Regions from separate parts of the Homo sapiens genome. Here regions 2, 3 and 4 are each linked to region 1. Evidence: promoter capture Hi-C in 16 types of primary human blood cells and fetal thymus (Javierre and others, 2016). All regions are on one chromosome and are shown on one strand. The core of a region is centred on a gene start or on the middle of the fragment in contact, and the rest is flanking DNA. Distances in the headings are between cores, read along the strand shown. Region 1 holds the start of ABCB10 (ATP binding cassette subfamily B member 10). Region 2 overlaps GALNT2 (polypeptide N-acetylgalactosaminyltransferase 2). Region 3 overlaps GALNT2 (polypeptide N-acetylgalactosaminyltransferase 2). Region 4 overlaps GALNT2 (polypeptide N-acetylgalactosaminyltransferase 2).

Region 1 (5,483 bases), core at 1,472-3,971:
AAAAAAAAAAATAGTGTGCCAACCCTAGGCTTGTTTCTTCAAATTATATATTCATAATTTCTCAATGTGGTGGAACAAAATATATTCTGTTCTTAAAATAAAAAGAAGGCCGGGTGCAGTGGCTCACACCTGTAATCCCAGCACCTTTGGAAGGCCAAGGTGGGCAGATCACCCGAGGTCGGGAGTTCGAGACCACCCTGACCAACATGGAGAAACTCTGTCTCCAAAAATACAAAATTAGCCGGGTATGATGGCACATGCCTGTAATCCCAGCTACTTGGGAGGCTGAGGCAGGAAGATCGCTTGAACCCGGGAGGCGGAGGTTGCGGTGAGGTGAGATCACGCCATTGCACTCCAGCCTGGGCAACAAGAGCAAAACTCCATCTCAAAAAAAAAAAAAAAAGGTACGAGCTGGGTGTGGTGGCACATGCCTGTAGTCCCAACTACTCAGGAGGTAGAGGCAGAGCTGCTTGAGCTGAGGAGTTCAACACAAGTCTCAGCAACACAGTGAGACCCCTATCCCAGAAAAACAAAAGAAGAAAGAAAAAAGGAGGCAGTCTCGTCTTGTTTAAGGCTGTCACCAAAACATACTAGCATGGCAGGATATCTGGGGACAGAGTGAGGGGTCACAGGAACAATGGTCATGGCATAAGAGGACTGGGCACGTGTAGGCCACCAAAGCCTGACACCTAAACACCCTTCCTGACATCTAGTATTTCAGAAACAAAACAGAACTGGATTTCCTTACACTTACTTTGAGTCACATACAGAAGTGGTGGGCGCACCCGATGATGCTCAGGGTTTCTAAAGGCCTCACTCTGTGCCTGGTGGTATGGTCATTTATTCCTTCACTGAAGGCACTCTGAGCGCCTGCTCTGTGCCGTGCACATGCTAAGAACTAGAGACAGAAAGATGAATCGCACAGTCCCCGTCTCAAGCAGCTCAAAGTCCAGTGAGAGCTCCTAGTCTCCAATGTTTTTAAAAAGAGGAAAGAGAAAAAGATATTTTACAACAAAATCTACACTCAACCAACTGAACAATGAAATAATTCTCTTTACACCCGAGTGATATCAACAGCCCCCTAAGCTTTCATAGCAACTGGTAGATGAAAAGTCGCCACCCTAACTGCTCTCCTCCACTGTGCAAACCTACTCTAAATCCCAAATCACTACCCAGGAGGGTCCTTTCTAAAGCAATGGATTTGCAGCAAAGAATGCTTTTCTGGTGTTGCACCTGACAACCTCACAGGCCCCACAGGCCCCCTTCCACAGCCCACAGGTGCAGGTTTACCTCTATACATACGAATATTTCATAGATGCTTCTCCCCACTAACCTAGAAGCCCCAGCAGAAGTGAGGACCATGTTTCCTTGTGCATGCCACTGTAAACCCAGGGCCCAGTCCAGAATGAGGGCTCAACAGATGTTTATAGAAGGAGTGAAGATTTAGAGAAATCGAAAAAATTTTAGATCTTACAAGGCCCTTGCATCTAAACACTCCTCCAATTATGGCTAAAAAATGAGGAGCTATAGAAAACTGTCCTATTTAAATTTTGTTTCTAAAAACATTCATTTTGGCTTCTTTTAAAAAAGTTACTCAATTACTGAACAGATCACTGGTGTGGCCTGTTGAACACAGTGCTGTAACTTCCTGCACAAGAGACAAGTCTGAAAGTTTTGCTTTCCGCTGTGAAAGCATTGGTGACTGCTTGACAGACTCGCTTGAAGCAAATAATGTGTTTTTGGTTAAAAAAAAAAAGTATAAACGCCTAATAACAAAATAGGCATATTTTTGGCTAGAATTTTTTTTTCCAAGGAAAAACCTCCAGCTCATTTTGCTGCCTAAGCCAAAACAGATGCTCCCACTAAGTTGGTGGTGGAACAGACCCAAAGATTCCAATAATGACATATATAACGTGTGTCAACAAGAAAACAAGTGTAAAATCTGCAAACGAGTCCCCAGCTAAGGCGAAATCTTGACAACGCTACTCTGAGGTGAGCGATCCCCTCCCTCCTCCGGGGTTAGGAGTGGCCCAGGAGAGGCGGCGGTGACACGCGCTCTGCGGCCCGGCCGTGTCCCTCTCGGCGCCCCGGGACCCCGCGTGTGGAGAAGGAGAGGCCCGGCGGAGGGAAGTGGCCGGGGAGGACCCTACCTGCCAGCCTCCGGCGCTCAGGGTACGCCAGCCCCAGGAGCTTCCGGGCCTCCGGGAGTCCGGCCGCTGCGGGGCGCAGCCGCCCCTTGTCCCCGGGAGGCGCCGCCGGCCCGCGCCGCCAGGCCTCGTCCCCTGCCCAGGCAGCGGCTGCGGGACCGCCCGGGAACCGGGCGCGCGGGAGCCGAGGAGCGCCTGGCCCGGCAAAAGCCCCGCACCTGCAGCTGCCGGGGCCGCGAGCCCACAGCCCCAGGAGCCGCGCGAGGCCCAGGACGCCCCGCGAGGCGCCCGGACCCCCGCCCCGGCAGCCGCTCCTCCAGCGGCGCGCGGCTCCAACGCCCCAGAGCAGCGCGGGCCCCGCGCCCCATAGCCGCGCCGGCCTCAGGCCAGTGAACGGCGATAGGGACCCGGGAACGCGGCTGGCCGCGGCCCACACGCAGGCTACCGGCAGGAGCCGACCTGGCTCGGCAGGGCTCGGTGGCTCGAGCAGCCGCAGCGGCCAGGCAGGGGGGCCTCGCATGGCGCTGCGTGCGACCCGTACGCCTCAGCCCGCCGGCCAGGCGCGCGCAAAGCCCGAGGACCCTCCCGGCCCGGCCCCGAGCAAAGGGCGTGGACGCGGTGGCGCCCGCCCCTCCCCGCTGGCTGTCACCCGCCTTATCGTGCCTGCACCCTCGGGCTGCGCCCGCCCCCGCCCCATCCTCGTCCGCGCGGTGCCGCGCCTCTCCGCCCCACTCCGGGGACTGCAGCTACCCGGACCTTGCAAGCCACCCTTCCGAGCGCCCCCAACCCGCTCGGGTGCCCTCCCTGCAGCGCCCCCAACTGCCCGCTGGCGGAGGAGCGCCGGGCGCGCCAGCTGGGACGAGGCCCGGGAAGCCCAGGAGCACGGCTGCGCCTGCGTACTGGGCGCAGGGAACTTTTTCGCGCTTCGCCGTCCCCTCTGGTCTGAACTTGGGAACGACACGAGCTCTTTCTCACGCCGGCAGACCGGGCGGAGCGCGCAGACGCGACCACACGATGGCCGGCACAAAGATGGGGCGGGAGGACAGCGTGCTGGATACGGCGTGGGGCGGGTCCGCGGCCCGGGAGACCCATGCTGGGGCGGCCCTGTCACTCGTCTCGCTGCCAAGCACAGGGCTGAGGTGCGGAGGGACCACTGAGAGGACTTCGCTGCGTGTCAGCTCAGCTCTGGACGGCGTGGAGGAGGTGGTTGGCGAATAGTGAAATGTATATAACTTTGAGAAGGGAAGAGATCGTTTCTTTTTTTTCTTTTTTTTTTTTTTCTTGAGACGATCTCGGCTCACTGCAACCTCTGCCTCCCAGGTTCAAGTGATTCTCCCTTCTCAGCCTCCCAAGTAGCTGGGATTACAGGCATACGCCACCACACCCGGCTGATTTTGTATTTTTAGTAGAGACGGGGTTTTACCATGTTGGTCAGGCTCTTTTCGAACTCCTGACCTCAGGTGATCCGCCCGCGTCAGCCTCCCAAAGTGCTGGGATTGCAGGCGTGAGCCACCGTGCCCGGCCTGAGATCGTTTCTTAACTAGAGCAGAAATTTGAAGACAGGCGTGGTCGAGGCATTCCCGCTGTTCGAAGTGGAAAACACTAATCAGAAGGCAATGCATCTTAATACACGTGCATGGAAAGACAGGAGAGAACATTAAAACTCACTGGGACACTTTATGGAGACTTCATGGGGGCGGGGGGGGATATGTACCTGAGGTCCAGTGAGTCGTGGGTAGATTTTTGTAGACTCCTAGGTATTTTTACTGGACCTGGACAGGGTACTGTCAGTTGCAAATTTTATGGGTTCACAAAATAAAAAAACCTCAATAATCAACATAAACATTTTAGTGCAATATTTTTAAAAATCAAAATTAATTTAAAAAATCCGTAATGAACAAAATATAAAAAATTTTGATTGAGTATCCACTCCTGACCTTTCACAATCCTGCCTCTCTTCTCTCGCTCTAATCCCAGCCCTGGAAACTTTATTTACAAAAACTGACAGCAGCTGCCCTTAGTTTGGCAGCTGGAAAATGGGAAAGAGAAAGTAAGAGGAAGGTGAGATTTGGGTTAAAGTTGTCACTTTCTCTTCAACTGGGAGGGTATCAATCCTTGATGTTTCTTTAGTTGGGCTCAAAAAGGAGGTAGCGGCCGGGCGCGGTGGCTCACACCTGTAATCCCAACATTTTGGGAGGCTGAGGCGGGCGAATCACGAGGTCAGGAGTTCGAGACCAGCCTGACCGACGTGGTGAAACCCCGTCCCTACTAAAAATACAAAAATTAGCCAGGTGTGGTGGAGCGTGCCTGTAATCCCAGCTACGCAGGAGGCTGAGGCAGGAGAATTGCTTGAACCCGGGAGGCGGAGGTTGCAGTGAGCTGAGATGGTGCCACACCGCACTCCAGCCTGGGAGACAGAGCAAGACTCCGTCTCAAAAAAAAAAAAGAAAAGAAAAAAAAAGAGGAGGTAGCGGCCAGGCGGTGGCTCACACCTGTAATCCCAACATTCTAGGAGGCCGAGGCGGGCGGATCACTCCAGGTCTGGAGTTTGAGACCAGCCTGGCCAACATGGTGAAACTCCATCCCTACTGAAAATACAAAAATTAGCTGGGCTTGGTGGTGCATGCCTGTAGTCTCAGCTACTTGGGACGCTGAGGGAGCATAATCGGTTGAATCCAGGAGGTGGAGGTTGCAGTGAGCTGAGATCACGTCACTGCACTCCATGCACTCTAGCCTGGGCGACACACCAAGACTGCATCTTTTCAAAACAAAATAAAAACAAAAAAAACACAAAGAGGAGGTAGCAAGATGCACAATGAAAACGATCCCATTTCTTTTCAGAAGTCACCTCATAAAAACTGACTTAAAAATTTTCAATTAAAATAAATTTTGCATGATTTGATTACTGAGACTTTTTAGCACATCTTTAAATTTTGTCCCTAGTAGAGTGCCTTAAGTATATGGTCCTGGTAGGTAAGGAGTGAGGTGGGGGAAGGATCGATAATAGAAAGTGTGGGGTTAAGTCGGGCCTTAAATGTGCCTGTGAAATGAGCAGTAAGCATGTAATCCTCTAAAGTCCAACCTCTTAAACCCAGAGGACATGGAGTCTCGCCTCCCTACCCCCGCCCCCCCACTTTCCTGCCCCCAGGGTGACGACAATTCAAGCTAGTTTCTCATCAGTGCAGAAGTTCTAGAATTGGTGGTGTAGTGTGAAATCAGCTCCACTGATATTTATGACTAAGCATGTTCCTTTTAGCAAATATGTTATTCAGTGACTTCTGAAAAGAAGTAGGATCATGCCTCATCATGCATCCTGCTACCTCTTCTTTGAGCCCA
Region 2 (5,483 bases), core at 2,025-4,524, 640 kb after region 1:
TCTAAGAGAAGTCTATCTTCTGGAAAGAAATTTCCTCAAAAATATTTTCATAACCTTATTTAATAAGCAAACTTTTCGCAGCCCTTTTTAGGATAATGCTCTCTTTCTTTTCTCATGTTATTTAAATACCTTTCTCATGTTATTTAAATGTATGTTTTATTTTCCTGTCATCTTTGGTGATGAAGCTAGTTTCTGCCTCCTCATGTAAAATGTTATATCTTTGAAGTATTTTCCGTCAGCTGCTTCTGCTTAGCCAAGTCCACTTTCCCGAGATTCTCATATATTTTTATTTTCTAAAGCTGTTTAATTTCCAGAACTATTTTTAAAGATTTTTAAAAAGATGATAAAAGCACAAGATGATGTATGGATGACATGTCATATTTTTAGGAAGGCAATATATTCAGACGTTTTGTTGGTTGTTTTGTGGCTGTTTCTCTCTAACCTCTGACTCATACCCTACTCTGTGTACCTCTCGCCATGTCCCTGTTTGCGTGGGGTTGGGCTGGGACGCGTGTGCCCTCTGCAAACCTTGTTCTCCATGGATTTTCCTGCCTTTGCCTCTGGGGGTAGCTTCAAACCTAGCAATTCTATATAGTACAGAAATAACCAATTTTAGTAATGGTTCTTTAGCTTAGCGTTTTCCAAATTATGGGTTGTGACCCATCATTAGGTGGTGAAGCCAGTTTCGAGAGATACCTAAAACAAAAATAGAATAGATCTGTTCCTCGCATATAGTGAGGGTAAGTTTGGTATTGTGAGACTTTTGTATCAGTTGGGTGTGTATGTTTGCATTGTGACACCTGGGTCACAGTGTTAAAAGTGTGTCATTGTCAAGCAAACTTGAAAGCCCCTGTAGTATTCCAGTACTGCTAAGCTTTTATGAAAGAAATACTGTTGATAGTCTGTCTCTAGTAAAACAGCTGTGTGTCTCAGGGAGATTGCCACAAGACAAGGCAGGGCCCACACCAGGGTCCTGTTGAAGACGCTCCTGTGTCAAAGGAGGCGGCAGGGCAGGGTACCGCTCAGTAGGCTCATGTAGTCTTTGGGTGCTGAAGAAAGATGATATTTTTGTGAAGTTTCAAGGGCTTCTCCAAGTTCATTTTTACTCATGATTCAAATCTCAGTTCAGATATTCTTTCTGCAGGGAAGCCGCCCCTGGTTTCCCAGTCTAGATAAGATTGCTCCATTAGATGCTTCATTCTTCACCCTCAGAGCACTTAGCTCAGTTTTTATTGATACATTTATTAGTATGGTCATTTAATTCTTTTTTTTCTTTTTTTTTTTTTTTTTTGAGATGGAGTCTTGCACTGTTGCCCAGGCTGGAGTGCAGTGGTGCAATCTCGGCTCACTGCAACCTCCGCCTCCCAGGTTCAAACGATTCTCCTGCCTCAGCCTCCTGAGTAGCTGGGATTACAGGCGCCTGCCACCACGTCTGGCTAATTTTTTGTATTTTTAGTAGAGATGGGGTTTCACCATGTTGGCCAGGCTGGTCTCGAACGCCTGGCCTCGTGATCCACCTGCCTCGGCCTCCCCAAAGTGCTGGGATTACAGGCGTGAGCCAGTGCGCCCGGCCTAGTACAGTCATTTGATTCTTGTCTGTCTCCCTCTACCTCCTAGAACATGAAGTCCACAGCATGGGTCACGGGCCTGTGTGTGCTTATTCTCCCTGCAGGATCTAGCATGACACCTCATGTGGAGTCACCTAGTATGCACCGCAGGCCAGGGTCTGAGCTGCCCTGTGAATGACTGGCATTAGACATCTTGCAAACCCTGTGCTGTGATGGTCTTATTCCAGAAGGGCTGTGGGGGTGTGAGAGCACAAAGAGATGTATGGGTGGAAATGGGATTGAAGCTTCTAGAGCTGTGCAGAGGCCTTATCCCATGGCCACTGCTCTCCTTGCACACAGGCCCACACCAACCAGAGTCCTCAGACTTTGCTGTCCCCAGCACGCCGGTGAGAAGCAAGTAGGCTGTAAGCAGAGTTACATGGTAGGATGAAACCTCTCTCGGGTGGTGGTCTCTTCTCTGGCTGCGCATGGGACTCCGTCATGGTTCTTTATTCCATAGTTCAAAGTTCCGTGGTGCAGGGTATTCAGGACATTAAATACGTTTGTTAGAACCAGCTCATTGGAATTCTGCCGTAGGTGCTGCTGGTTTAGATTTTAACAAAAGCTTCAAAGCCTCTTTTGTATTAGTCCGTGAAAGGATAAACTCACTGGTGAGGAGTAGAAGCTGCTCGCTCTTGAGCGCAGGTAGGTGTTATTTTTCTTCTCATCCTTGAAAATATATGAGGGTGAAGGCAGGAAGATGAGGAGAGAGTGGAGGATCAGTAAGTATTTTTAGGATGGTCTTTGCACGGAAAACATGTTTCCAGTAACATGTTTTGGAAACATTTTATTTGCGGCATAAGAAGATGCTGACACCTTGGCCGGCTCCCACAGGCAGCTGTTTATTGGGGCCGTGGTATCATCGCTGTAGCCAGGCTCGTGGGTTTTGGAACTGATTTTCGATTTGAGAGGCCAGACTTCTGTGACACCCCCCAAGCATCATTTCCACGGCAACCAGCTGTGATGAGATGGGGGTTCTGACCTCGCAGGACCATTGCAACAAGAAGCAGATGAGCTTTTAGATAGAAAATTTACTCTTCTGTCTTGAACAAATTACATGTAACTGATTCTCAGTTTCCTCATCTCTGAAATAGAGAAAGGAACACAATGGCCCTTCAATTGTGTAATGAGGGATTTCTGTTGGGAAAGTAGATATGGAGGTACACATGCTATTATCATACCGTGTTTTCAAGGTCAACTGCACGACCCAAGGGTTGACACGCTGCAAAAGAGCTGTCTCCCCCTTGCTGCCCTGTTTCGTGTAGCTGCCGGCAGCCCTGCCTTCCCCTCTCCAACCTTGGCTCTGACGGCCAGGCTCTTGCTTGCTCCTTAGTCACACTGGCCTCCTGGCTGGTTCCTGAATGGGCATGCTCATGTCGACACTAGGACCTTTGCACTGCGGTGCCCTATTCTCCCGGAGAGTTGCATGCCCACACCCTGCCTTTGTTCAGTTATCTGCTCAAAATCATCTTGCTAGGCCTTACCAGACCACCCCATAAAGAACAGGAACCCTGTACTCCCTGCCCCCATAACAGCCTTATGTTTCTTCATGGCAGTTCCAACCACTGGAAATTGTATGAGTTTCATGTGAGCAGGGTTGTTGGTGGTGTTTATTATTATTTTTTAGTTTGTCATATCTATGAAGTGGAACATTGTAGGCCATTAAGTCCTCGTGAAGAACCTTTTGTTATTCTATTTACTTATTTTGTAGGAAACTTAATTTCAAACAATGAATAGCGTATCCGAGATCATATAGGTGGCAAATGGCGAATGGTGCTTGATTGAAACCCAGGTTGACACAGAATCATAAATGTTCTCCTTGCTTCAAGTCTGCCTCTCCTTCCACCTGTCTTCTGCTGTTTGAGCATCCTGCCTTTGTGCATTTCTCTGGCTCTGCCTTTATTACACCTGGGCTCATCCTGACTTCACTCGCCTAGCAGTGCTCTCCTCTCAATGCTCCTTGGTCGCCAACACTGCCTCTGCCCTAGGGTAGAGCTCCTCAGTGCAGTGGTGTGTTCTTGGAGAACCTTGTGCCTGGCATTCTAGGGTTCAGGCCAATGCCAGGGGACAGGCAGGCTGCCTTGGCTTCCTTTCTTCCAGGAAGAGAACAGGTATGATGTGTGTGTTAGGAATGGCCAGGCCCCTGCTGTGCATATGAGGACACCTCTGAGAGCCACATCCTTCACTTTCTCCCCGTGGGGTCAGGCATACTAACAGCTGCAAAAAGGACCCCTTGACAAGGTCTCACCAAAGGGTATTTTGATATCCTGTTCTTTAGGGGTTATTTTTTGTATAAACATTTATTTTTGTGTTACCTGATGTTACATGATGGAATACCTTATGTGCAGTTTATACATGATCTTCTTCACCCTACCTGAGATAATGTCAACATTATAATCCCTGGAAAGGTGGGACAAGCTGAGAACATCTCCTTTTATAGAAAACATGAATGATGCCACAGTTACAGGTACTTTGATCTTACTTTGTTCACTGGACAGATGCCTGTACACCAGGCCTTTAACTTTCATGCTGTAAATGGCAAACCTGCAGTTTCCTATTCTCTGGGTTGTAGACAGGATGATGCTTGCTTGTGCTGTTTTCAGCTAGTTTGTTGTTTAAAATGGCCACTATATAAAGAAGCCATGGATGTGATTTCTGGAGTTAACACTTACTGCAGTCTCTGTGATGAGCACTTGGTCACATTTTCCCTCATCCCTACCCTCTGCTCTGCTCTTTTTAGGGAAAGTACGGTGGCCAGACTTTAACCAGGAAGCTTATGTTGGAGGGACGATGGTCCGCTCCGGGCAGGACCCTTACGCCCGCAACAAGTTCAACCAGGTGGAGAGTGATAAGCTTCGAATGGACAGAGCCATCCCTGACACCCGGCATGACCAGTAAGTACCCCACTAAGCACCTGCTGCAGCTTCATTTGCTTTCACACAAACCAGTACGTCGCTTTCACCTGTGACACTAGAACTTCTCCATTACTCTGGGAAATTGAATGTGTGTTGTAAAACTAGGAAAAATCCTGAGGTATATGGCAATGGAACTTCATCCATAGGCAGTGGAAGGATGGTTCTAGATTCAGCTCTAGTCTTTAGGTGCCCTGTGGCAGTGTGCAGAGGCTGTGGGTTTCTGGCCAGAGCGTGGAAGTCAGAAAGAGAGTTGTGTGACTGGCTTTATATTTAGTGATCACTTGTTATTTTTATGATCCATTCACAAAAATGCAAAATTTGTCATTGTTCCCAACCTTGGAGGAAGAAAATCTAAATTCCTGCTTATTGTGACAGCTTATATTGGAAATGTTCTAAAGATTAGAAAGGAGAAATGAACTACCCAGCACAATAGATGTTAAATTGAGCAGAAACACAGGAGGGACAGGTGCCACATCTCCACACCCTGTACTAAAGGAAGGGCTCTTGTCCACATCTTTCTTTCTATTTTTAGAGATAGGGTCTCCCTCTATCACCCAGGTTGGAATGCAGTGGTGCGATCATAGCTCACTGTAACCTCAAACTCTTGGGCTCAAGCAATCCTCCCATCTCAGCCTCCTGAGTAGCTAGGACTACAGGCATTCACCACTACATCCAGATAATATTTATTTAAAATTTTTTATTTTTATTTTTTGGTAGAGGTGAAGTCTCTCCATTTGCTCAGGCTGGTTTTGAACTCCTGGCCTTAAGTGATCCTCCCGCCTTAGCCTCCCAAAGTGCTGGAATCACAAACATGAACCACTGCTCTCCTGACCTCCTTCTTTTTCTTTTTCTTTTTCTTTTTTTTTTTGGAGACTGAGTCTTGCTCTGTTGCCTAGGCTGGAATATAGTGATGTGATCTTGGCTCACTGCAACCTCTACTCCTCTACTTCCCAGGTTCAAG
Region 3 (5,483 bases), core at 1,950-4,449, 600 kb after region 1:
TAAAAGGACTAATTCTGTAGTGATTTTGCCACATGGAGAGGGGAGGGAACTATTGTGTCAGATCAGGAAAACCATGGGATCAGTGCTAAGGGCCTGTGTGGTGGGCTCTGTCTGGGTGGGAGAGACTGTGTCCTGGTCATGGGGCTCAGTCTGTGGGTGGGTGATAGAAGAGTAAAGCTTTTGTGTTTTTAGGGTGGGGAAGAGAAGAGAGAGTCATTGATTTTAGATACAAGTGGAATACCACGTAGACCTGGCCTCTGGGTGGTGATGACCTTCTGGGGTTGATGTCTGGAGACGGTGCGGTTTTGGGATGGGGGAGCAGACGAGGGAGAGAGAGAGAGAGAGAGAGAAAGAGAGAGAGAGTGTGTGTGTGTGTGTGTGTGTGTTTTACAGCAAAGACCTGGATCCTGAATCTTGGGGAGAAAACTCCTTGCATTGTACATATTGGGCTGGTTACATGGCTGAAGTTCACCGTGTCATTTTAGGCCTGTTTCTGGCTTCCACACTGGTTTGCAATGTCATCCTAGGGAAGTCAGCTTGTCCTTGGTAGGATATATTCATTGGTGAGTTCACTCAAGAGACTCCTTTTTGCGTTTCTTTACCTTCAACGTTCGTTTCCTAAAATTGATTATTCCTTCATAAAGTTGCCAGCATTTTCAACATGCTTCCTAGATGCTGGATATTTTATTATCGTTTGTCACGGATCAATTTATTTTTTTGGCCCTTAAACTATCACATTTTCTGCAGTTAAATTTGCTTAACTTTCTAATGCAGGGGCAGAATGTAACCTGCAGGTTGTGGCTTTAGAAAGCAATGTGGAACTCGGGGCCATGGTAAGCAAGTTGGTGGTGGTTTTTTTTAATAGCACATCTCATCCTTTGATGTCAGAACACTGTCTACACACTCTGATTCATTTCAGTCAGTCCCTAAAATGTGAAGATGAAATGTTGGGGAGACAGATCCTCTGGCCTGAGGAAGCTAGCCGTCTTGTTTGGGAGATAAGAAACATCAACTGTTTTGAAAATACTTTGGTTCTATCATTAGAGAGCTGATCAAGTGCAGTAAGAGGCAAGGTCAGACTGGGCTGTATTATGTTTTGATTTGGAGAAACTATCACGAAAGAGGTAACATTGAGTCAGAGCCTGAGAGAATTGTGGAGAATCCCTGCAGGAGTAAATAAGACCATCCCAGGAGGGCTCTCATTTAAGGCCTCGTGTACTGTGGTCATTTGACCTTGGTTCAGATGCCACTTCAGTTTAGATGCATTTAAAAGCAGAGAAAACATTGGAACTTACTGTGTAGTATTGAGTGAGCATTAATTGAGATGTGTGTGAACCATTGAGCATGATACCTGGCGTGTCGTAAGCACCATTATAGCAAACTTATAGAAAGCTGCATTATGTCACTATACACCTAGGGGAGTGGCTTTGGGGGGAAAAAAAGCAAAAATGCCACCAAGTACTGGCAAGGACATAGAGCAGCTGGAACTCTTATCCCTTGCCAGTGGGAATGCAAAATGGTACAACCACTTTGGAAAATAGTTGAGCAGTTTCTTATAAAGCTAAACACATGTTCTCATACAACGCAGTAATCCCACCCTTAGATATTATCCAAGGGAAATGGAAATTTATGTGCTCTTGGGATTCATAATGGCATTATTCATATTTGCCAAAACTGGAAACTACGTAACTGTCCCACGACTGGGGAATGGATGAACAAGCTGTGGTTTGCGTACATGGTGGAATGCAGCATGTGGCGGGATACCTCCTGCAGTGGAAAGGAGACAAGCACGGTTCACACAATGTGGATGGATCTCTGTACATTATGTGCATTAAGAAGCCAGGTCCAAAGGCTACATACTGTATACTTCTATTCATATGACATTCTGGAAAAGGCAAAACTACAGAGAAAGCAGATCAAGGATTGCCAGGGGCTGGAGAAGAGAGTTAACTACAAATGTACTCAGGGGAGTTTTGGAGGATGGTGGCACTGTTCTATATCTTGATTGTGGTGGTGGTTGCATGACTATATGCAGATGTCAAAGCTCCCAGATCTGGATACTAAGAAGAGTGAATTTTACTGTATGTAAATTATACTTTTAATTTAAAAGCAGAGAAAAAAAATCATAAGCCAAGTCAGGGAAGTGAGAAGGATCTTGTTGTATGTGGAGAACCGTCATGGAACAGGCCAGAACTGAGCACAGATCAGGTTGAATGGGTAGGATGAACTGTGACTCCAGAGGCATTGAAAGGGAAATGTTTGCATGGGGCGTGGTGGAACACAGAGAGCCCTCGGGAGGCCCGGGTAGCAGGGGGGCAGGATGAAGGGGGCATTTCGTGTTGTGTGAGGGATGAGTAGCGTGGGGAGATGAGGCCAGAGGTTCCAGCCAGGAACTAGTGCAGTTCTCTAGTCTGTAGATAAGGCCTGAACACAGCAGTTGGTTGTAGGATTCTGGAGAGACTGGAGCTTAGACCTGATTACATTATATATGCACTGTCTTTTCTCAGAGATGGGGAAACTAAGGCATGAAAACATTAACTTTTATTTTGGAAAAAAGCTAAACATAGAAGTAAGAGGGAGGCCTCCTGAGGCACTTTGCCAAACTTTATGCACAGCAACTATGACCTGCAAAATCTTTTTAGCCTGGGCTCCCTCTCTTGACCTGAGACTCTTCCAGGGAGCCTGGTATCCACAAGAGTGGAAGCAGCTGGTCAGGGCCACGGAACTGGAGATGCCCCATGGGACAGAAGGCCTGGGGCTCTGGCAAAGTGTCTTGTAAGTGTTCCTGTCATTTCCCTCCACGTAAACCAAGTCAGGCTTGCAAATCAGCAGCCTTTCAGGTCCTTTCTCTCCTTCTGGAAGCTCTTGCATGTTGCAACCCCCTACCCACCCCGCCACCTCCCATCACAGATAAAGATTTTGTACCATCAGCCTGCAAGTGAGTTGGATGAATGCCATCTGAAAGGCTTTGTTCGTTTGCACACGAGGTCGTGAATAGCTGGCAACAAAGAGGATTGAACCTTGGACCTAGTGTGTCTGAGCAGTGCCCCAGCCCCCATGCCGCTTTGGATTTCAGTGGCCTCTGCAGCAATTTATTATTCTTACATCAGATGTTTGAAGTAGGTGAAGGGGCAGGTGGCATGTGTCTGGTGAGGTTGCTGACACTGCTTTTGGATGAGAGAGAGAGTAGTGGTTGAAACAGAGCATTCAAAAAAGCGTACACTTTAACCTGTAATCCGCAAACATTCCTTTGAGTTTACCCAGCCGTGGGAAAGGACGCTGTACCCCTGCCCTATTGGCTGCACCCTTTGCTGTTGATGTGAGGCTTTATTTACCTGGGAATTGACAGGGTTTTGGTCCATGATTGCTCCTTTCTCCGCAATCACATTTAATGCCCATGATATCTCATCTTTGCACACGAAGGCAAAGCCTTCTACTGCTTTTTCTCTTAAAGTGTTCAGCACTCCCCTGAGTTTATTAGAAGGATCAGAAGAAAGAGACCCTGAGTGTGAGGCTAGGTCAACCGGAGAAATTCACCCAATTATTTCGTTTCTTTGTTTGGATCCCTGCTTTTCATTTCTACCTATTCTGAAAGAGAGGCTTAAAACTAAAGTCCGGTTAGTTGAGGATCAGATGTGTCATACTTTTCTCAGAGGGGAGGGGACGGTCACTTTGCTCTAAGTTTGGGCCATGAGGTCCACACTGAGCCTACATGGGGTAGGGGGAAACCGTGAAGTGTGCAGTGACCTGAGGGTGCCAGATCACCCCGAGCCGTTGTGGTTCCCACTGGGCAGGCTGTACGTGGTGAAGGTGATAGACTGCATGTCTCATGCAGGCCAAGTGCCTGTCGGTCAGCTTGAGGGAGAAGATACCTTGTCTACCTCCCCCCACCTGCAGGCTGGCTGGCTTTGGGTGCAATGACCCTCCTCTTCCTTGAATCGCTGTTTCATTGTGGACCTGTTGGAAGTGCCAGCTTGGCTGGCCTTTGGCTGGATCCCTGTTTGCTAGAGCTTTGTTCCTACTCTGGAGGAGTCAGCTGCTGTGCCTTCTGGGACTGCCAAGAGTTGCCAAGGGGAGTGGGGAGTCCTCTCTGTGGGGTGTCGTCTGAATCCAGCAGCCGCACCACCCAGGTGCTTCCCTCCTCCCCACTCCTAGGCCAATGTCCTTAGTTTCTGCTCACTGATCAGACGATTATCCTTCTCCAGGATGACCACCATCATCTCATAGTCCTTCCTCACTCCCTTCCATGAAGTGCTTCTCCAACCCATTGTCTCTGTCATAGTGAAATGATTCTACTGTTAGTATCAAGATTTTCCACTAGTGCTAATAACAATCCCTGATGTTATCAAACATGTAGGATGGGCCAGGCATTGTACCAGGTGTCTACAGAAATCCTTTGTGCTGACTGTTGACCACTATCCCCATTCTGTAGGCGAGAGTGAGCCTTAGGAAGGGCGTTGGACGTGGCCAGGATCACACACCATGCCTTGCACTCACCTCTGATCTCTGAGGGCCAGGGCCTCCCTGTATACAATGATCTCTGCATCTCTTCTTCCTAGCAGAAGACTCAAAAGAACTTTCAGATGTGGGAGGCCAAGGCAGGTGGATCACCTGAGGTCAGGAGTTTGAGACCACCCTGGCCAACATGGTGAAACCCCGTCTCTACTAAAAATATAAAAAAATTAGCCGGTCGTGGTAGTGGGCGCCTGTAATCCCAGCTACTCAGGAAGCTGAGGCAGGAGAATTGCTTAAACCCAGGAGATGGAGGTTGCGGTGAGCCAACATGGTCCCACTGCACTCCAGCCTGGGTGACTGAGTGAGACTCCATCTAAAAAAAAAAACACGAAACTTTCAGATGAATAAGTTGGTTCTATCAGAGATGGCTCTTAAAGCTCAAAAGCTGTTTTAAAAAGCCCTGTGGATGCGCAGGCTCTCTTAGACCCTTTTTCTGTGTTACAGAAGGGGATATAATACCCCAAATAGGGTTTTTTTTGGTACAAACTGTGGATAGTACTAGATTTTGCTCCATACAGAGTCCTGTTGACTGAACTGCCCTTTCATGTTGTGTCTCCAGTGTTTTTATGGGCAACAGCCATATACAGTCTACTTCCTATCTATTGTGAAGTTGTTGTTGAGGATTTCCTGTATTATTTCACTCTGCATTCATGTCTCAGTTACCTTTGATCCCTAGCAAACTGTCCCAAGTGGAATGGCCTAACCCAGGAATGATGTATTATTTCTTACAGTCCTGTGACTGTCTGGGCGGTCCTTTTGCTAACTTCCCCAGGGCTCACGTGTGCCTTGTGGTCAAGTGATAGCAGCGTTGGCTGGCTGGTCCAAGGTGGCCTCACGTGTCCTATAGTATTTGCTAGCTATTGTCTGGGGCTCCTCAACTCTCCACATGCCCCAGTAGCATAGACCAGCTTCCTTACACCATGGTGGTCTCAGGGCAGCATTCTAAGAGGGCATGTCCAATGTGCAGG
Region 4 (5,483 bases), core at 1,960-4,459, 580 kb after region 1:
ATTGTAAGAAAATGGCCACCAATGGAAAGAGCAGTAGAATAGTAAGGGATTTTTTGTTTTTTGGTAAAATTCCAAGGAAAATACAAGCAAAGCACTGCGAGCGTAATAATTTGCCGTTGCATGGACTAAGGGGTAAGGAAGGATGAACTGGTGTATTAAAGGAAATCCAGTTTCGTTCCCACCTATGAAGATTACTCAGGTTTATGGAGAGTTGTTTTGCTTTGGGCTGTTGCGGAAATAATCTACTTGGAATGAAGTTCTTTCAGCTCCTGGGAACCTTTAATTGTCCTGTGGGCTGGTCATTCAGGTTGTACATCCACAGACTCACAGAATTGCGTAGCCCTGGGAGGAAGGGACCATAAAGATGAATCAGCCCAGCCTTCCTCAGACATCCTGCGACCACCCCAGGCCCAGAGAGGCTGTGCCTGGTCCAGGCTGCCGGGTCCCTGCGTCAGCTGTACTGGAACTGTCTGCTGAGTGCGCCCTCCCCCACGGGGCTTCTGTCTGCTTCTTGGACACCCCTTTCTTCCCCTTGGGGGTCGGCTTTTTAATGGCCAGCTCACCTCTGCCTGAGAGGAGGAATGAATCCCAAGGCTTGGGTTTAGGGGATGGCTCACCTCTGCCAGCCTGTGCTTCATGTTTGGAGACAGGTGATGGTTAACCAGGCAACAGTCCCTGCCAGTAGTGTGTACACAGACAGTAGTGTGGCTGGTAGGTTTGGCCAAGGCCTGGAGTTGGATTCCTACCCCTGCCACTGCCTGGCTCCACTGCCCTGGGCCAAGTCCCTGCCCTTCCCAGTGCCCCAGCCCCTGGACAGCAGTGCCTAGGTGACAGAGAGTGGTCCCTGTCCTACTGAGGGGATGGGAGCACAGTGGAGCGTGACTTCCCGTGAAGCTGCTGTCCGTTGCTATAGAAATCCAGCCTCGGAACCGGGAGTACTGTCAGTGGTGCTCGGGAAACTTCCCCCTTCCTCCAGCCTGTGCTTCCTGGAGTGACGCGCTGCCACAGCTGGAGGCTTCTCTGCAAACGTGTATTATGGTTTTATCTTCTCCCCTCCCACAATGAGTTCTGTCTGTGTCAAGTGTTTAGAGATCATTCGAACCTTTCTCCTCACCCCTCCCTTCCCCTTTTCCTCAGGGAAAAGCTTGTGCATAACTCAGTAGTAAATGAATTGTCTAAATCATGTAGCAAAACACAAAATAATGTGACTCCCAGTAGTATATGCCATTATACAACCCAGCTGTACAGTATTTCAGTGTATTCAGAGGACCTCTTTTCCATTACCAAGTGATAGTGTGGAAGGGAAGATACGTATCCTTTCTAGTTCTGAAATAGCTATATTCTTATTTTCTCTGCTTTTGTGTCATCATTGAAAAATTCCAGCATTCGTTGCAAATGTGTGTCTATTTTGAAACAAATGACAAACGAAACAAGAATGCATAGATCTGTAGGTAACCATGCTTAAAGACATTCTGTTTCTTCAAGGGGAATGTGAGTGAATGTGAATTGGATCACCCCACAGGAGATTAGTAGGAACTGATTTATTTTGTTGGCAACATTTGTTGACAGTGTGTCCTGGAGTCTTAATATTACAGCTGAAAGGAGAGATCCTGCCCATCTTAACACTGCGCAGAAGGGACTCGTACAGGCTCTGGCTCCAGACCCGGGCTGGGTTCCTTACTTTGTTTTTAATCCTTAAAAGTTGGTAAAATACATACATCATAAAATTTGCTGTCTTAACCATCCTTAAATTTACAGCTCAGTATCCTCACGCATCCACAGAACTCTTTCATCTTGCAAAACTGAAACTCTGTCTCATTAAACACTGACTCCCTTCTCCCCTCCCCTCCCCCTGGCAACCACCATTCTACTTTCTGTCTTCATGAATTTGACTCCTCTAGGTCCCTCATGTTAGTGGAATCATCCAGTATTTATCCTTTTGTGACTGGCTTATTTCACTTAGCATAATGTCCTCAGGGTTCATCCATGTTGTAGCGCGCGTCAGAGTTTTCTCCCTATTTAGGGCTGAATATTCCATTTTATGGTTAGGCCACATTTTGTTGATCTAGTCACCCATTGATGGACACGTGGGTCCTTATGGCTATTGTGAATAGTGCTGCTGTGAAATATGGGTATACAGATATCTCTTCAAGACCCCGCTTTCTTTTGTTTTCCTTTTTTTTTTTTTTTTTTTTTTGAGACAGGGTCTCGCTCTATTGTCCAGGCTGAAGTGCGTGCCACAATCATATCTCACTGCAGCATCAAACGCCTGGGCTTATTTTCCCGCCTCTGCCTCCCAAGTAGCTAGGATGACAAGTGCTTACCACCATGCCAGGCAAATTTTTTGTTTGTTTTTTTGTTAGAGACGAGAGCCTCACTGTGTTGCCCAGGCTGGTCTTGAACTCCTGGCCTCAAGTGATCTTCCTGCCTTGGCCTCCCAAAGTGCTGGGATTACAGGTTTGAGCTACCACCCCTGGCCGAGACCTTGCCACCACACTGCTTAATAAAAGGCTGGGCTGCATTTTGGGATTAGGACCTCCTGTGGAGGTGGGGGGAGGGTGGGGAAGGAGAACGGTGGCATCCCAGCCAGGAAGCATGAGGGATGGCATCCGTCCACCAGGCCACAGGAAGCATAAGGGATGGCCTCCATCCACCCGGCCACTTCTTTCCACATCAGCATTCTTCCGCACTTGGGCCACACAGGGTCTGCGAGAACTCCAGGTGGCTCTTAGAGTGGCACTGACCAAGTAGTCTGTGTAGGGGGACTCACTGTGCCCCCCATGCTCAGAGGCTGTATGGTGAAGTCGTTAAGGGCCCGGGCTTATATCCAGCCCCGCCAGCTGATCACTCTTGATCTGGGGCAAGTAACTTAACCTCTGTGTGCCTCTGTTTCCTCCTTTGTAAAATGGGGAAAAAAGTAGTACCTACCTCCTAGGGCTCTTCTGAGGGTGACCTGGGTTAATATAATTAAATATACCTAGTACGTGCATAGTAAGCACCATTTAAGTGTCTAGAACATTATGGGTAAAAATACGCCTGTGCTTTGGTGAGTCTGGAAGTCTAAAGTGTAACTTTCCTAAGCTGGTCGTTGCCTGCTCTGTTCACCTAAGTTCGCATGCTCATTTGCTGAATGCTGTCTGCATACTTGCTGGTCAGCTACTTCTTGTCCTCTGTCTTACTGTGGGGCCTGCGTGGGAAGGCTGGGTTTTTCTGAACACTTGCTTATAAATTATCCTCCTTCTGTTCATTTAAAGCCAGATGCTCTCTATGTGAGAATTGGCCCGTACCCTGGGAGAAGGTTTGAGCTCTCCTGGGTCCTGGGGGCCAGCAATTCCAGGAGAGCCATTTCCTTCCTGTGGCTGCTCTTCAGAGCAGCAGCCTGCAGGCTGGGCCCATCCCTGGTTCAAACTGTTTTTAGGGGAGTGGGCTGGAGAGCTGCCCAAGTCCATGTCTGAGCAGCTGGTGAAGAGAATGGTGCTGGCTCCTCTAGGCTTCTGGTACTCCTGGAGCCTGAGTCCAGAGACTGAACCTCCTAGTCCTTCCCTTGCAGTGGATTCTGGGAATTGGGGTACTGGGCACTGTCAGCCCCATTCCCTGTGAGCATCTGGGCTTTGGGCAGGGTCCTCACTCTCTCTGGCTTTCAGTTTCTGCGTGTGAAAAATCAGGGGAATCCGCAGCCTGAGAGCTTCTCTGGAAGGTGTAGTTAGTTTTTGGTAAGAGATGTCCAGTTGTTTGCAGCAGCTGCTAGGAATGAAATGCAGAACTGGAGACATTCGAGAGCAGAAGAGCAGAAGCAGCAACAAGGTGTGGTGTGTGCAGGTTCCACAGTCACACAGCACCGCTGCCCATCCTTCATGGGGTCCTGAAGTCCCATGCAGAACTGCGGGGTGGTCCTGCTGAAGTTCTTGTGGATGCTGCTGCTGACCTGTAAAGAGGCATGGCAGGTGCAGTAGGGGCCAAGGAGAAAGAGGTCGTCTGTCGGCCTGAACACTTCCTTGGTTTTTTCTTGGCTTTACGCAGCATGTTGCTTTTCACATGGGAAAGTGTCAGCCCCACGCTCTTATTAAAGCATTGAGTTCTTCCAGGCCTCTGTTGCTGCTCTGATAACTGAAAGGGTATTGTGCTTGTCTTTATCTGCCACACGCACGTGGGTGACATTGATGCGCCAACCAGATGCCCCCAGCTGTGACAGGCAGAATTTAACTGTCGCCCTGCTCAGCGATCACCAGCTCATCTTGTTTGTCCTGATGATGGTCCCTCCTGTTATTTGGCTGTTTGTCAGATATCAAGAATTTTCTTTGTAATTAGGCTTTAATTGCTAACTTTTAAATTCTAATCACTTTCAAAATAGCACTCTTTTAAATGGAGGTGACACATCTTAGGACATTCAGAACGATACCTCCTATATTTGCCAGAACATATTCCACTTACAAAAGCAGCACCTGCGAGTGCTTGACAGCTGTGTCGTGGGAGGTGGCTTGATGCAGATCCTCCTGGCCACACCTGGATCGGGAGGCAGAGCAGGTTGGGGTAGGAGACGTCTCCGTGCTGCCTTCTGGGCCACATGTCAAAGAGTTGACACTGTTATTTCACAACCCTCTCCCTGTATCTAGAGTGACCATGCTATTTAGTGTCCAGACCTGAGTGCTTTTGAGAATGAAAGGGGAAATGTTAATAATTACATGGAGACAGTAGTTAGTATCCAGAACATTTGTCCTGTTTTGTGCCTGAAACCAAGAAAGACTACTACACTCGGCTTCTCTATAACCAGAGGATCACAGAGCCAGCGTCACCCGCAGCACCAAATGATAAAAGCTCAGAGTAGCCGGTGCCTGCATGTGAAGGGCGGTTTGTGTTCCTCGCTACTGGAAGTAGGATTATGGTTGTAATAATTATGTCGACTTCAGTATTTTTTCCTTAAGAAAGTTTTATTGTGCCAACATCTGCAACAATAGACGCTGTATACTCTTAGGTACCAAGCACCCACCAGGATTTCGCCATGCTTATTTTGTCTTTTCCTGTTTATGCCTGTGTGTGTGTGGTGGGGAGTTAGGGGTGGTAGTGGTGTGTTTTAAAGCAAATCTCGGATGTTATTTTTCTTCTTGTGATGCTTACTTCAAAGTAAGTACCACTAACCTTGTGCCAGTGTTCTTATGTGGGGTGAGGATTAATTAAAGACTAAGGGATTTGAAGAGCAACTATAAAGTATTAAAAAGCCTGGGAGTAGGTGGTTGATTTGGGGCAGAGGTTATGGTGTTGCTGATACAGTGGCTTCTAAGCTTCTTGTGGGAAGGATGAGTTTATCTTTGGCAGCCTTCAGTGATCTCCCCGCAGGCCTTGAGGTGAGATGTGTAGTGATGTCAGGCTCCTCTCTTGCTTGGTAACCTACAAACCAAGCAAGGTGAGAGGCCCGGCGGAGCATCCCAAGGGTCTCCCGATGGCCACTCCAGAGCTGCGTCATCTGTTTTCTGCTGCAGCATCTG

What was found. Contacts are between HindIII fragments. The CHiCAGO score rates a contact against its expected background, and 5 or more counts as called.
Region 2: a contact is called between a fragment that was not itself captured here and the fragment with the promoter of ABCB10 in region 1, in 1 of 17 cell types (endothelial precursors). The highest score is 6.0, in endothelial precursors.
Region 3: a fragment that was not itself captured here is called in contact with the fragment with the promoter of ABCB10 in region 1 in 1 of 17 cell types (megakaryocytes); the score reaches 5.2 in megakaryocytes.
Region 4: a fragment that was not itself captured here is called in contact with the fragment with the promoter of ABCB10 in region 1 in 1 of 17 cell types (erythroblasts); the score reaches 6.9 in erythroblasts.

Annotation. Positions count from the first base shown.
Region 1 is chr1:229,555,986-229,561,468 of GRCh38, forward strand. It overlaps ABCB10 (ATP binding cassette subfamily B member 10), which reads right to left and starts at 2,722. Exons shown (of 13, transcript NM_012089.3): 1 at 2,151-2,722. The coding sequence starts at 2,667. RefSeq lists silencers at 1,932-2,381, 2,442-3,141 and an enhancer at 3,312-3,501. The HindIII fragment of the contact is 4,467 bases long and covers 1,085-5,483 here.
Region 2 is chr1:230,198,790-230,204,272 of GRCh38, forward strand. GALNT2 (polypeptide N-acetylgalactosaminyltransferase 2) reads left to right here. Exons shown (of 16, transcript NM_004481.5): 3 at 4,348-4,501. Among named protein-coding and RNA genes, the nearest start is that of GALNT2, 130 kb to the left of the region's middle. RefSeq lists enhancers at 1-166, 1,582-2,081. The HindIII fragment of the contact is 2,208 bases long and covers 2,171-4,378 here.
Region 3 is chr1:230,155,883-230,161,365 of GRCh38, forward strand. All of the region lies in intron 1 of GALNT2 (polypeptide N-acetylgalactosaminyltransferase 2), which reads left to right. Among named protein-coding and RNA genes, the nearest start is that of GALNT2, 91 kb to the left of the region's middle. The HindIII fragment of the contact is 6,049 bases long and covers 176-5,483 here.
Region 4 is chr1:230,139,614-230,145,096 of GRCh38, forward strand. The region is part of intron 1 of GALNT2 (polypeptide N-acetylgalactosaminyltransferase 2); the gene reads left to right. Among named protein-coding and RNA genes, the nearest start is that of GALNT2, 75 kb to the left of the region's middle. RefSeq lists an enhancer at 683-1,275. The HindIII fragment of the contact is 4,135 bases long and covers 1,143-5,277 here.